5 separate regions of the Homo sapiens genome follow, and regions 1, 2, 3 and 5 are each linked to region 4. The links are contacts of gene promoters, found by promoter capture Hi-C in blood cells and fetal thymus (Javierre and others, 2016). All regions are on one chromosome and are shown on one strand. Each heading gives the region's core, a stretch centred on a gene start or on the middle of the fragment in contact. The rest is flanking DNA. Distances are from core to core; before and after follow the strand shown. Region 1 overlaps CSTPP1 (centriolar satellite-associated tubulin polyglutamylase complex regulator 1). Region 2 overlaps CKAP5 (cytoskeleton associated protein 5). Region 3 holds the start of LRP4 (LDL receptor related protein 4). Region 4 holds the start of KBTBD4 (kelch repeat and BTB domain containing 4). Region 5 overlaps PTPRJ (protein tyrosine phosphatase receptor type J).

Evidence for each region. The method cuts DNA at HindIII sites, captures the fragments that hold promoters and counts their contacts. A CHiCAGO score of 5 or more calls a contact.
Region 1: a fragment that was not itself captured here is called in contact with the fragment with the promoter of KBTBD4 in region 4 in 2 of 17 cell types (non-activated CD4 T cells and fetal thymus); the score reaches 5.7 in non-activated CD4 T cells.
Region 2: a fragment that was not itself captured here is called in contact with the fragment with the promoter of KBTBD4 in region 4 in 2 of 17 cell types (fetal thymus and erythroblasts); the score reaches 6.9 in fetal thymus.
Region 3: a contact is called between the fragment with the promoter of LRP4 here and the fragment with the promoter of KBTBD4 in region 4, in 1 of 17 cell types (naive CD8 T cells). The highest score is 5.5, in naive CD8 T cells.
Region 5: a contact is called between a fragment that was not itself captured here and the fragment with the promoter of KBTBD4 in region 4, in 1 of 17 cell types (naive B cells). The highest score is 6.4, in naive B cells.

What each region holds. Positions count from the first base shown.
Region 1 is chr11:46,940,314-46,943,013 of GRCh38, forward strand. The region is part of intron 1 of CSTPP1 (centriolar satellite-associated tubulin polyglutamylase complex regulator 1); the gene reads left to right. Among named protein-coding and RNA genes, the nearest start is that of CSTPP1, 4.9 kb to the left of the region's middle. The HindIII fragment of the contact is 1,245 bases long and covers 744-1,988 here.
Region 2 is chr11:46,826,102-46,828,801 of GRCh38, forward strand. The region is part of intron 1 of CKAP5 (cytoskeleton associated protein 5); the gene reads right to left. Among named protein-coding and RNA genes, the nearest start is that of CKAP5, 19 kb to the right of the region's middle. RefSeq lists enhancers at 84-636, 637-1,187. The HindIII fragment of the contact is 1,112 bases long and covers 857-1,968 here.
Region 3 is chr11:46,917,275-46,919,974 of GRCh38, forward strand. LRP4 (LDL receptor related protein 4) reads right to left here and starts at 1,276. Exons shown (of 38, transcript NM_002334.4): 1 at 1,054-1,276. The coding sequence starts at 1,105. RefSeq lists enhancers at 1-337, 1,501-2,005, 2,700 and silencers at 841-1,010, 1,021-1,200, 1,211-1,440. The HindIII fragment of the contact is 10,743 bases long and covers 1-2,700 here.
Region 4 is chr11:47,577,720-47,580,419 of GRCh38, forward strand. KBTBD4 (kelch repeat and BTB domain containing 4) reads right to left here and starts at 1,251. Exons shown (of 4, transcript NM_018095.6): 1 at 1,214-1,251; 2 at 1-309. The coding sequence starts at 1,232. It overlaps NDUFS3 (NADH:ubiquinone oxidoreductase core subunit S3), which reads left to right and starts at 1,355. Exons shown (of 7, transcript NM_004551.3): 1 at 1,355-1,439; 2 at 1,550-1,615. The coding sequence starts at 1,373. RefSeq lists enhancers at 810-1,469, 1,162-1,401, 1,470-2,128. The HindIII fragment of the contact is 1,977 bases long and covers 1,036-2,700 here.
Region 5 is chr11:48,115,124-48,117,908 of GRCh38, forward strand. All of the region lies in intron 3 of PTPRJ (protein tyrosine phosphatase receptor type J), which reads left to right. Among named protein-coding and RNA genes, the nearest start is that of MIR3161, 20 kb to the left of the region's middle. The HindIII fragment of the contact is 2,690 bases long and covers 8-2,697 here.

The DNA of each region.
Region 1 (2,700 bases), core at 116-2,615, 640 kb before region 4:
GCTGCAATGAATAACCTGCAGTTTTGTTCCTTTGCAAGTGTATCTGCAAGAATAAGTTCCACAAAGTGGAATTGGTGGATTAAGGGCATATGCATTGAAGTACTTATAGATATTGTCAGATTGCCCTTAATAGGTGTTGTACCATTTTGCCACCAGCAATGAAAGAGAATGCCTGTTTCCCCATTGTGCTGACAACAAAATACATCAAACTTGGATTTTTTTCAATCTAAGTGACAGATAGTCTGAGTAGATTTAATATGCATTTTTAAATGAAGTTGAGTGCCTTTTTACCAAGTTTAAGGGCTGATTGGTCTTTGAAAGCTATATATATACACATATATACATGAACATATATATAGACATATATATAGAGAGAGAGCTTAAGACAGTGACCACATCCATTAATCAGCTAAAAGGGGATATCACAGACAATTTTGTATCTAATGAATAACAGTATCAATGTCAAGCAATGCCTAGACTTTTTTCCAAAGATTTTATGTATTTTATTACCCAGTACTCAATGAATATATGAAATATTTGAAAAGGCTAGTTCATTGTTCAGTTCCTTGGGTGTTTGCTGTTTGAATTTTATGTCTCAAAGGCTTGGCAGATTTGGTGTATTGGTGCCTTGGTGAATAGAAGTTGGTGGTCTCTTCATAAATGGCGTTTTCAGGAAGGCCAATTCAGTGGCAGTGTTGAGAATGAATCTACAAACAGAATCAGAGTCTCAGGTTGGTTGAAAAAGCTTCAATGTTTGTGAAGCCCAACCAATCACCTAATAATTGAATCCTATACAAATGCTTCTTCATGCTTTGTTGCATATTTAAGTGTCTTAATTCCTTGTCCTAACCACTAACTAGACATTCATACTGCCCTCAGCATGGTCACACCCCTCACTGCCTTCTCCTGGTTCATCAAACCGTATCACTCTGCTGAAATGCGTTTGTCTTTAGTTGAGAACTATCCCTGCCTTTTACAATTTGTCTCTCTTAGAGGCATGCTGCTTTGACCTATTCACCCTCAATTTTTTTTTTCTTTTTTCTTGAGACGGAGTCTCGCTCTGTCACCCAGGCTGGAGTGCAATGATGTGATCTTGGCTCACTCCAACCTCCGCCTCCAGGGTTCAAGTGATTCTCGTGTCTCAGCCTCCCAAGTAGCTGGGATTACAGGCACCTGCCACCATGCCCAGCTAATTTTTGTATTTTTAGTAGAGACAGAGTTTCACCATGTTTGCCAGGCTGGTCTCGAACTCCTGACCTCAGGTGATCCACCCACCTTAGCCTCCCAAAGTGCTGGGATTACAGGTGTGAGCCACCACGCCTGGCCAACCTATTCACCCTCAATCTAATGACCGTTTAAAACCACTCCCTACAGAATAGATTAATAAAATATTTCCTGATTTAAATTTTTAAATACCTGTGATTTTTCCATTTGTTTTTATTTTTATACATTATAAAGTTACTTGTATGTGTAAGCCTAAAGAAGACTATACTTATAGAGAAAACAAAACTGCAGACTGGAAAGCCCTAGGCATTCAGTGAAACCCAAAAGCTAAAGTTGAGTTCCCCTTGGTTAGTGTATCTGGAGACCTCTCTTTAGGATTATGGTGTAAATTACAGGGATACCTATCCAAAGAATATCTAGAGATATCCCTTTCTCCCTGCTAGCTAGGGATTGTATTTACCTTTCTGACTATTAGTGAAGAAATCAATCTTTTATCATGTTGGGTAAACTGATCCTTTCCCCACTGACTTTGTAGATTAGGAACCTGTAATCATGGCCTTGCATGGCTTAAGATCTTAAGATCATCACTAAAGAATAGCTTAGTGATGTTCATGTCTGCAGTCATCAGAATGTAGTGATAAAAATTGTGTTAATGCCTAGGCCTGAAGAGAGAAAGGAGAGTCTGGTAAGGAGATGAAATAAGTATAGACCCTCTCTGTAGGACCCGCAAAAGGTTTCCAGCCTTATGAAACCTACTTAGTGGAAGCTTCTGCCAGAGGCTGAAGGTGTGTCTGTGTATCTGGTTGGGTGTGGCGAGCTCTCTAGAGCCAAAGGGCAGCCTGTTCTGGTCCCAGGTTTGCCAAACATACCACCTACGTGCTGACCTGAGTATAAGCATGAGGGCGTGAGGTTTATTTTTTACTCCACCTAATTTGGTGAGGTGCATGCTTTCACTCACGCTCCAAGTTGCCTCTTCTTTTCCATGGAACCTGCTTATTCTCACTACGGTTGATAGTGGGTTAGTATAATAGATAACTCTAGAAATCAAAGATGGCCTTTCTCCTTTGGGGACTAGACATTTAGAAGAATCACAATAAATTGGGTAGTTTTTTTTTTAAGCTATAGTTTTTGAACTCTTCCTATATGCCTGGCACTGTGGTTTATCTCATTTAATTTTCACAACTACCATATGAAGTGGGTACTCTTACTGGTCCCAATTAGTAGTTATTAATATCATCTTCTCATTTTATAAATAAGGAAGCTGAGGCTTAGAAAGGCTAATTGATTTGCACAAGGTCACACAGGCAATGATGCATAGTAAACAGGGGTTCATACCCAGGTTTGTCATATTCCACAGCTTGTGTTTTTTCCTCTTCACTAAAAAGATAAAAACAAACCAAAAAACCCCTATTGGTTCAAAGGGCAGTAATTCTTGCTTCCTTATTAAGGATGAGGCTCTTGCAAATAAATTTCTTG
Region 2 (2,700 bases), core at 163-2,662, 750 kb before region 4:
TGTGTTTGCTTTCCTAATCTTGGGACAGTGGCGTCCCACAAATTCCTTCAGAGATGGAGAGGGGTAAAGAGCTGTCTCTTTCACATTGTGCTCTTTATATCAGGAGGAAAGGTTAACTGGACTCTTCCTAAGAGATGTTCACTGTCAACATATCCAAAAGGGGTACGGGATACCACCAACACAGGCCTCTGGAGAGACAGCTAAACCTGGCTGTGAATTAGGACAACTTGGAGTTACTGCTCGACTGTACCAAGGTAGCTGAAAACCTAATGCTTACTCATCCCAAAGCTACCAAGGTCTTCAAATACCAGGGTAAGGATCCAAGGCCCAGAGAGAGAGATTCAGCTCCACCCATTCAGCTCAAATGGGTTATACTCTGGTAAAAGCAACCCTCTCCTCACCCCAAGTAAGAACCAGGTGGGGGCAAAGCCAGGTCGTGGGCACTGCTCACCCACTGCATGCCCAAACAAGCACCCTACGGCTGCTGTCACCACCCAGAAGTAGAGCAGATACCCTGGCTTTAGCTCACTGGAGCCGGCATTGTTTACGCTCTTTCGCCGCCTTAGCCTCTGATAGGCCAGCAAAGTCCCCAGTACTGTCCACCAGGACTTGCAGCACGGTCGCGGGATGCTTGCCCTTTGCCCGTGGTTTGACACTTACGCTCCCCGGGCAGGGAGAGGTCAGGGAAGCTAAGGTCCGAGCAGGATCAGCAGGAATACCCGGCAGGCGGCGGCGGCGGCGGCAGCAGCATTGGTGCTGCGGTCCGCTGGGAAACGCCTCCTCCGAGGGCGGGGCCCGGAGCGCCACTGTCAGAGTGCCCGCCCCACCCTCAGCTCCCCTCTCCGCACACTCTGAAAGCTTAAAGGGGCCGCAGTGTATCTTCGCCCAGAGGTTTGCAGGCCTCAGGCGCTGCTTCTAGGTCCTAGGCTTTCCCAGGCAAGAGGCAAATGATGGACCAACTAGGAAGACTACTGCAGTTGGGTGGACCTCTTTTTTTGGTAGTATTACACGTAATATTCCAGAAACAAAGGAGATGACCAGTTCCCACTATCACAATCCTAATCCCTCCTCCAAGGGTGAAAAAAATTACTGCAGGTAACAGCCAAAGCATCAAGGTAGATACATAGCCCCTCATTATATGTAAGCTGCTTACTTCATTAACCTCCTTTGGACTCGAGCAGTTCTTCAAATGGCAACTCAAAGGCCTGGAAAAGATCCTACAATGCTCCACCTCACCTTTTCACGGAATTCGTTCTTTACAAAACTGGAGGAATCCTGGACAATGATACAAGATGGGCAGGAAGGTAATAGAAGGTGAAATAGAAAAATACCAGCCTGGGCAACAAAGTGAGACCCCATCTCTACAAAAAATAAAAAATTAGCTGGGCATGGTGGTACAAGACTAGTCCCAGCTACTCCGGAGGCTGAGGTGGGAGGATCCTGAGCCCAGGACTAGGCTGCAGTGAGCCAGACTGCACCACAGCACTCCACCCTGAACAACTAACCAAAACCATACCTCTATAAAAGAAAAAAAGAAAAATAACCTTCCCCATCTTGTGTGTAAAATGTGATCTTTCAAAAATTGACCTAAAAGTCAACGTAAATAAATGTACAAGTCTATGTAAGTAATCTTGCATGCCAATACAATTGTAATGTGCAATCATCTAATTTAATATGAAGAGTTCTTAAGAAAATTGTAGTAGAAACGGCATTAATATTTCAAGGAGTTAAGTCCTAGTCTCTGAGATCTCCAAAGGTTAGCAACTAGTTTTAATTTTCTTTTTGTAGGAGGAGTTTGTCCTGAATCCTAGTTTACAAGGTTTGACTGCATTTTGTGTCTCCCATCATACCAACAGGAAAGATATGTGCTTTTTTTAAGTCCATATTACTCCACCTAATTTAGATGAATCAACACACCTCCTTAAAGCCTTGGGCCATCATCAGATCAGTACAGGAATCAATGTAGTAAGCTTAAAGACCATTTGTAAGTAACCCAATTTCTCCTATCCACAACAGGAATAAAGCAGAAATTTAAGAATCCAAAGAACAGTTATGAAGATTGCTCCACCAGGGAGCAGACTCAGGTTACTCTTATTCTGAAGGTTTTAGAGAACCCTAAGCTAAAGTTGCCAAGTATCTTTTCCTTACTTGGGTGGGGGCGGGGTAGATAAATAAATAAAGTTGCCAAGTAAAAAATGGATTCAGATTAAAACAGTCTGATTTTTGAACTGCCAAGACAGTCTCATTCTACAATGCATTTAACTGTAAAGAATACCTCTGAATTAGGTAATTAAGACCTTCATTCATTATATTCCCATCAAGCTTAACTGTTCTGAGGGTAATGGTTTGCAGATCAGCCTTTCTCATCAGATTGTGAGTTCCTCAAGGGCAAGGGCTGGAATGTATCTTAATTATCTTTTTCTTCCAATGTGTGATACAAAATAAGTACCCAACAAATATTTATCACAAGAGGTATGACCAACATTTTCTGTTACATAGCATTCTAGTGACATAGGACTTCAGTTAACTGCAATAAACATAGTACAATGAGTGTATGTGTGTATGCACACACAAATGGATAATACCCTGTGCTGTGCTTATGAGCGAATTAAACATTTTAAAAATTAGAGAAAAAAATCTACTAACAGTCACAAAAAAAGTCAAATACTGTATGAACCCACTTTTATGAGGTATGCAGTC
Region 3 (2,700 bases), core at 26-2,525, 660 kb before region 4:
CGGGGCTGCGAGGCAAATGGGGAGACTCGGAACTCCCGCCACGATGAATAGCGATGGGTGAATAGGGCTGGGGTTCAAAGATCAAAGTTCTTTGATCTCTGGGCACAAACTAGGGAAAGCTGCTCAATCACGGGGTGCACCCAGGGTCGTTAAGAGCCCGCGGAGAAGCAGATTCCATCGGAGCCCTAGTCCCACACAACAGGGGGTACGGGCACCAAGGAGTCCTGCTGCAGCCGTCCAGCTCCCCCGAGGGCTGGGACCCTGCCGCGAGGGCCCGGCGGCTGCCTTCTGGGGTTCAGGGTTACCGGCCCCCTGCCCCCCTACCCCAGCCAGGGCAGATCTGCGGGAGCCTTCCAGCAGTTTCTTCCCTATATTCCTCCTCAGCCCCCTTTCCAACCACCTCCCTTTAGGACGATCCAGGGCTGGAAGCTGACTGGCCGCAGCCAAGAGAGGGACCCCGAAACACCGCCGAGGGGAGATGCTGCCCGCAAACAGTGCCCCAGAGCCCCTTGGTGGGAGCAAGACCTGGAGTCCGGGAATCGTTCTCCGAGTAGAGGAATCCCGGTGCCCAAGTACCAGATTCTACCGGGGCCTCTCTCCGCAACCCGCCCGAGCCCCCAGCCCCAGGAAGGAGGGCTATTTACAATTTATGGGTTTAGCGACCCTCCTCACCCGCCTCCCTTTCTTCGCACGCATTCATTCGCACCAAGGACACAGAGCCCCCGACCTAACCTGAAAGGGAAGCAGCCCCCGCTCTTGAAAGAGCAGCGAGGGAGGGCGAGCGAACGAACGCCCCGGACCTTACCCGCGCCCCGGCCCAGACCCGCGCCCCGGCCCAGACCCGAACCCGCGGAAGCGCCTCCGCTGATGCCCCCGCTCGGACTGCTGGAGCCGGGGCCGCTCCGGGTCCTCTCCCCTGCACGCAGCCCCAGGGCCACGGCTAGGAGCGAGGGCGAGGGGTCTCAGGCCCCGGCCCGCGCCGTCCAGGTCCCGGGAGGCGAGTCCTGCAGCGGCCGGACCCAGGGACAAACTTTCCCGGCGGGCGCCGCTTACCGTGTGCGCAGAGCAGGGCGCCAAGCAGCAGCGCGCCCCACTGCCGCCTCATGGTGCCGCCCGCGCCGCTCGCCCGGGGTCCCGCCGGCTCCCGCCGGACGGCGCGGCGGAGAAGCCCGCGGAGGGTCCCCGAGGGGGAAGCGTCCCGGGTGCACGGCGGCCTGCGCGCCCCGCAAGTCGCCCTCGGGCCGCCGCCGCCTCCAGTGCTGCCAGAGCCGACGCTGCCCCGCCAGGGGACCGGGAGGGGGTGTCCCGGGCCCGACCGCCCCGCCCCCCGCGCCGCAGCCCCGGCCACCGCCACCGCGCCTGGGCCCGCCCCCAGCGCCGGCCCGGCCCCTTCCCGCCCTCGGCCCCGGCTCCCTGGTCCCCCGACCCCACCCGCCGGCGCCTCCTGCGCGGGGCCCCGCTCCTCCTCAGGCCGCCCCCACATTCCTGGCCCGAGAGAGAGCCCCCTCCCTGTCGCTATTACTACTGCTTAAATTTCCCTAACTTAAAAAAAAAAAATTATCCTAGCAGCAAGTCTCGCCCCCGCTCACTCCAGCTCTATGCTTCAGACGAGCACCTGAGCTGACCCAAGTCGCCTGGACGTGACCCTGCCCCCGCCTACCGGCCCCAAGTCCAGACTTTTTTGATGTCTGCGAATACGCAAGGCTTGTGGATGCATAATCCTCTTGGGTCTTTATTGACATCAAACAAGGGACATCAGGGGGCCTGGAGTGCTGTATCTTAACTGGCGTTCTCACTGTCAAAATTCCTTTTCGGAGATTTTCTTCTCCCTGGCCTCCCCCGGTCTAGGCAGCGTTGTTCTAGGGCTAAATAATTCACCGACCCCCCCGCCCCTTTTCATTCACTCATTTCCTGAGATGGTTGTCTGGGTCCTGTTGCTCCAGCTCAGAGGCCCAGATTCGGCCCATACAGACTTAGTTCCTCCTTGCTGTCTTTGTAAATCACTGTTGTTAGCCTCTTCACCTTCTTTGACTTTCTGATCCTGACAAGGAAGGGAGGGGGTCAGGAAAGGAGTCCTCATGGGCAGCTGCACTCCCACAAAGCCCTCAGCCTCCTTCCAGCCCCAGTCTGTAGGTCCTTCCCTCAGATTTAACTTTTGATTTACTGCATAAAATCATAAACTTGTCTCTAGTCTTCCTTCCTTTTGTGGTCTACTCTCCCTAATGCATATTAATAATACGGATTAATTTCACCACCTTCCATTTTTCCAGGTTGAATCTTGTTTTGTTCCTTTTGCCCAAATGCCCAACTTTCTGATGGCCCAGTATATCGCTTTTTTCCCTCCCAGCTGATATGCCAGCATTTCTTGGGCTTGGATCATCTATGGATTTCATTAACTCACTTTCCTCACCAGTAAATAGAGTCAGGAAGACCCAAATGCCCCCTGTTAGCTGAGGGGAAAGTAATTTGGCATAGTGCAAAGTGGTTATTAGATTTCTCTAAATGGATACATTGACATTTCATCCTTGCTTGTTTTTTTCAGTACTTTCACTTCAAATTACCATCTTTTACCAAAGCTAACATGAACCATACTTTGCGACAGCAACAACAACAACATAAAAGATGTAAGGTGTTAACTCCTTGTTAGGCAGTAGTTTTCTATATCGTTTTGCCTGAAATTTTTATCCAGATGCAATGTGG
Region 4 (2,700 bases), core at 1-2,500:
ACTCGCTGACATCCTGCAGCACAATCACCCGGTTGTGGGCCTCCTTCAGGTTGGAAGTGAACATGGATCGGAAGAAGCAGCTCTGAGCTGAGAGGACCAGCCGATGGAGCTGAAACTCCCGGCCTTCCACCGAAATGGTGACATCAGCAAAGAGCTCCTCCTCTAGACACAGTTTCATGATGCCTTGAGCCACACGGCCTGAATGTGACCGATCTTTGAAAGTGTAGTTCACAAAGTAGTTCTCATCCATGGATGCTCCAGGCTCCTCTGGTGATTCCATGCTAGCCAACTTCTCTCTCTGCCAGCTGTCTGCAAAGCAACACCATCTTGAGTAACCTGAGGAATTCACAGCCATAGTCTGTGAATCCAACTGTCCAACTCAGGGAGGGAAAAGGAAGAAGTGAGAGCAAAGTGGGTCCAGATTGGCCTTAGTCCTGGCCCTGTCCATGATGTCCCTGACGCTATCCTTTAACCAAATCTGGGTTCGTTATCCCCAGTGGCGCCCCTCCGCTAATGATATAAATAAAAGTTCCAACTCTGGGTGTTTTCCTGAGAAAACACGGAATAATTCCTTTCCATAATGTTAACAAAAGACTTGGGATTTAGGTCAATATATGAAAGCAAAGGGCTGGGAGAGGCCTGTGATCGTAAAAGCCTTACTAACCAAATAACTGGGGCATAAAACTAGTGAAGCTCAGGGGCAGTAGAATCAGACAAAAAGGACCCCTGGCCCCGGCCTAGTGGCCAGGTCCTCTCCTTCCCAGCGCATGGAGTTAAGACGCTCCATATGAAGCCTAGCCTGGGATATCCGTGGGTCTTACATTTGCTCTCTTCTGAGCTGCTTCCCCCACACTTCCCCGCTCGCTCGAAAGACTCCCTATGGCTGCGTCCCAGAACTTGAGTCCATCCGCCCCCAGGCCGGGGCACTGGGAGGCCCATCACCCTGTGCAATGTCCCCGCTCCACCTTGAGTCGTCTTGGAAACGGTCGCCAGGGAAACCGTTCTTCCCGCTCAGGCCCGCCCGCCCTCGTCAAAAGCTTGGCTCAGAGAGCGGGGGAGGGGTGTGTAGCGTAGAACCCAAAACGCCCGCCCCCTCCCCTCCTCTCACCCGCCTGGTTCTTCAGCGTCCTCGCCTTCTCTCTAGGCTCTGCCACAAGGAGCTAGGACCACGCTCACCTCACGATTTCCCTACCTGCCTGTCTCGCTTTCTCACCTGCGTTCCCTCCTTTCATCCCGGAGCCCGGAACCTCCGCTTCCGGCTCCACGTCCGCCCGGAAGAAGATCTGCTGCACACTTCCGTTTCCGGTCCGTGCCCTTGGGGCTCCGTGTCCTGCTGTCTTTCCGTCCGCTGCCTAGTCTGCATCTGAGTAACATGGCGGCGGCGGCGGTAGCCAGGCTGTGGTGGCGCGGGATCTTGGGGGCCTCGGCGCTGACCAGGGGTGAGCACGGGCAGCCAGCTGAGACCGGGGTCAGGCGCAGCGGCGTGCCCAGTGCAGAGAGCTCCTCAGGGCTCATCCCGCGCGTCTGTGCCTTTTATCTCCCTGTGCAGGGACTGGGCGACCCTCCGTTCTGTTGCTGCCGGTGAGGCGGGAGAGCGCCGGGGCCGACACGCGCCGTGAGTATGTGCGGGCAGCGCTCTTCTCTGAACTATCGGCGGGGCCCCTTAGATGCCTGTCCTTGCCCTAGGATGCCCTTCCCTACGTCCTCCTGGCAAATCTTGGAGATCTGACTTGCAGTGGTCTTCACCCTGCATGCAGAATCGAGCCCTCCCTGTGCCCTTAGGCCTGTTATGGCCCTGATTGTTCCTTGTCCATTTCAATCATCCCCTTTTTGTCTGATTAAACTGTCAGCTCTTTGAAAGCAAGCAATATAACCTTTAGGCCTCAGAGCCCTGTAATAATAGTACCTAGCGTTAATTGAGTGCTTAATGTGTGCCTGGAACCTCGCTAAGCGTTTTAGTGAATGATCTTATTTCGTCCTCACAACAGCCTTATGGGGTAGATAGCATCTTACTCTTCTTACTATAGATCAGGAAACAGTCCAAAGAATTAAACTGCCCAGGGTCAAAGACCTAGTGAATGACAAAGTAGGCCTGCCTGCTGCCAGAGGCAGAAACACCTAACCATTATTCTGTAGCTTGTGATGTGTGATTGCTCAGTGGTTTAGGGTTGCATGAATGAGTATGTACATATTATGTTACAGTCAAGATACACGGACTGGGAGTTAGGAGACCTGGCATTTCTCCTTTCCTGGGTTTTCTCATTGACACACACACACACACACACACACACACACACACACACACACACACCTGGGCCTCAGTTTTCTCATTGACACACACACACACACACACTTTTAAGGAGAGAGAGAGTCTGTGAGGGATCTTCAAGCCCTGAAGTTCTTAGCTTGAGAACCTGGTATAAACTTGCGTGCTAAGGAGCTACAGAGAGGCAAAAGTTCAGTTCCCATCCTCAAACAGCTCTTAGTCTGACAGGAGAACTGAGACTACTGCTTTAGCAGAAATGCAGGCAATGTGAGGGAAGAACTGTGGAGTAATTTTGAGAAGAGGTGAACACCCCAGCTGCTATAGTAAGAGTCTTTCTGAGGACCGTGTAGTTAAGGTGGCACTTTCCCCAAGTTTTCATCACTGTATTCCCTAGAAGGGAAACCTTTCACATGCACCTTTCTCAAGGTGCTTCA
Region 5 (2,785 bases), core at 103-2,602, 540 kb after region 4:
GGTAGAAAGCTTATTTAAAGAAATAGTAGCAGAAAACTCTCCAAACCTGGAGAAAGATATAAATATCCAGGTACAGGAAGGACAAATGACTCCAATCAGAGTCAATTCAAACAAGACTACTCCAGAACATAATCACACTGTCAAACATCACAGACAATGGGGATTTGGAAAGCAAAAAGAGAAAAGAAGCAAATAACATGTAAGGGAGCTCCACTTCAGCTAGCAGCAGACTTCTCAGCAGAAACTTACAGGCCAGGAGAGAGTGGGATGATATATTCACCATGCTGAGGGAAAACAACCTGCCAACCAAGATTGCTATACCCAGCAGAACTGGCCATCAAAAATGAAGGCAAGATAAAAGACTTTACCAGAGAAACAAAAGCTGAGGGAGTTCATCACCACTAGACATGTCTTATAAGAAATGCTAAAGAGAGTTTTTAAGCTGAAAGAAAAGGACACTAGTGATTAATTGAAAACATATGAAAGGATAAGACTAGTAAAATAAATACACAGTCAAATTCAGAATACATGAATACTGTAATGGTCATACATATCTTTAATATGAAAGTTAAAAGATAATACTTAAAAAATAATAACTACAATAACTTGCAGGGGGGATATGCAATATAAAAAGATGTAAATGGTGACATAAACAATTCATAATATGAGTGGGGAATGGACTAGAAGTGTAGAGGTCAATTTGTGTGTGTGATCAAAGTTGTCATCAGCATAAAATAACCTGTTATAACTATAAGATTCTTTTTATAAGCCTCATGGTAACCACAAAGAAGAACCTTTAGTAGATACACAAAAAATAAAAAGCAAGGAATCAAAACATACTACTAGAGAATATCACTTAACCTCAAAGGAAGATAGTAAGAGAGGACGGAAGGAACAAAGAGTCTATAAAACAACCAAATGGCAGTAGTAAGTTCTTACCTATCAATAATAACCTTGAAAGTAAAGGGTTTAAATTCTCCAATCAAAAGACATAGAGTGCGTGAATGGGTTAAAAAAAAAAACCGATCTCAATAGTATGCTGTCTACAAGAGACTCACCTCACCTGCAAGGACATGCCTAGACTGAAAGTGAAGGGATGGAAAAAGATACTCCATGCTAATGGAAATCTAAAGAGTGGCAGGAGTAGCTATACTTATGTCAGATAAAATAGACTTTAAGTTCAAAACTTTTAATGGAGACAACAAACATCATTTTATAATGATAAAGGGATCAATTCATCAAGAGGTCTTAACAATTATAAATATATATGCACCCAGCATTGGAATGCCTAAATATATAAAGCAAATATTAATGGATCTGAATGGACAGATTGACTGCAATGCATTCATAGTAGAGGACTTCCACCACCTTACTTCCAGCAATGGACAATGATCCAGACAGGAAATCAATAAGGAAGCATCAGACTTAAACTACAGTTTAGACCAAATGGATGTATCAGACATATACAGAACATTCCATCCAACAGCTGTAGAATACACACTTTTCAACTGCACCTGGAACATTCTCCAGGTAGATCATATGTTAGACCACAAAACAAGTGTTAACAGATTTAAGAAGTGTGAAATCATATCAAGTATCTTTTCTGATGATGGCATCAAACTAGAAATAAATAACAGGAGGAACTTAAGAAAATTCACAGATATATGGAAATTAAACAACATGCTCCTGAATAACTAATGGGTTGATGATGAAATTAAAAGGGAAACTAAAAAATATCTTGAGACAAACATCACTTCTTAAGCAATTTTGTTAACATATTTCTTTTTCTTCTTTAAAATGGTGCCATAACCTCCTTCATGAAATTGCTGTGAGACATAAATTAGAAAATGCTTGTACAGCCCCTGGTATAGGATCTGTCCCCAGGTCACTTACAGCAGGTCCCCAGCAGGGGTCATGCTGATCTTGCCATCTCCCACAGTAACTATTGTTAATTGTTTTGTCACAAATGCCCCTGAACAATCAATGGGTCAGTGAAGAAATTAAAAGGGACATTTAAAAATTTCTTGAAGCAAATGAAAATGGAAACACAATATACTAAAGCCTATGGGATACACCAAAAGCAGCCCTTCCAAGAAAGTTGACAGCAATAAACTCCTACATCAAAAAAGAAAGCTCCCTGGGCACAGTGGCTCGTGCCTGTAATCCCAGAACTTTGGGAGGCCGAGATGGGCGGATCACTTGAGGTCAGGAGTTCGAGACCAGCCTGGCCAACATGGTGAAACCCCGTCTCTACTAAAAATACAAAAATTAGCTGGGTGTAGTGACACACACCTGTAATCCCAGCTACTAGGAAGGCTGAGGCAGGAGAATTGCTTGAACCCAGAGGGCAGAGATTGCAGTGAGCCGAGATCGCACCACTGCACTCCAGCCTGGGCAACAGAGCAAGATTCTGTCTCAAAAAAAAAAAAAAAAAAAAAAAAAAAAAAAAAAAGCAAGCTCATACCTCCAGCCTGGGTTTTGAGAGCCTGTCTGAAAAAAACAAAACAAAACCCTCAAGTAAATAACCTAATGTAGCACGTTAAGGAACTAGAAAAATAAGAACAAACTAATCTTCAAATTAGTAAAAGGAACAAAATAATAAAGGTCAAAGCTGAAATAAATGAAATAGGCACTAGAAAAACAATAGAAAAGATCAATAAACTAAGTTGTTTTTTTGAAAACAAAGAACATTGACAAAGCTTTAGCTAGACTAAGAAAAAAGAGACGCTACTCAAATAAGAAAATCAGAAATGAGACATTATAAACTGATACCACAGAAATACAA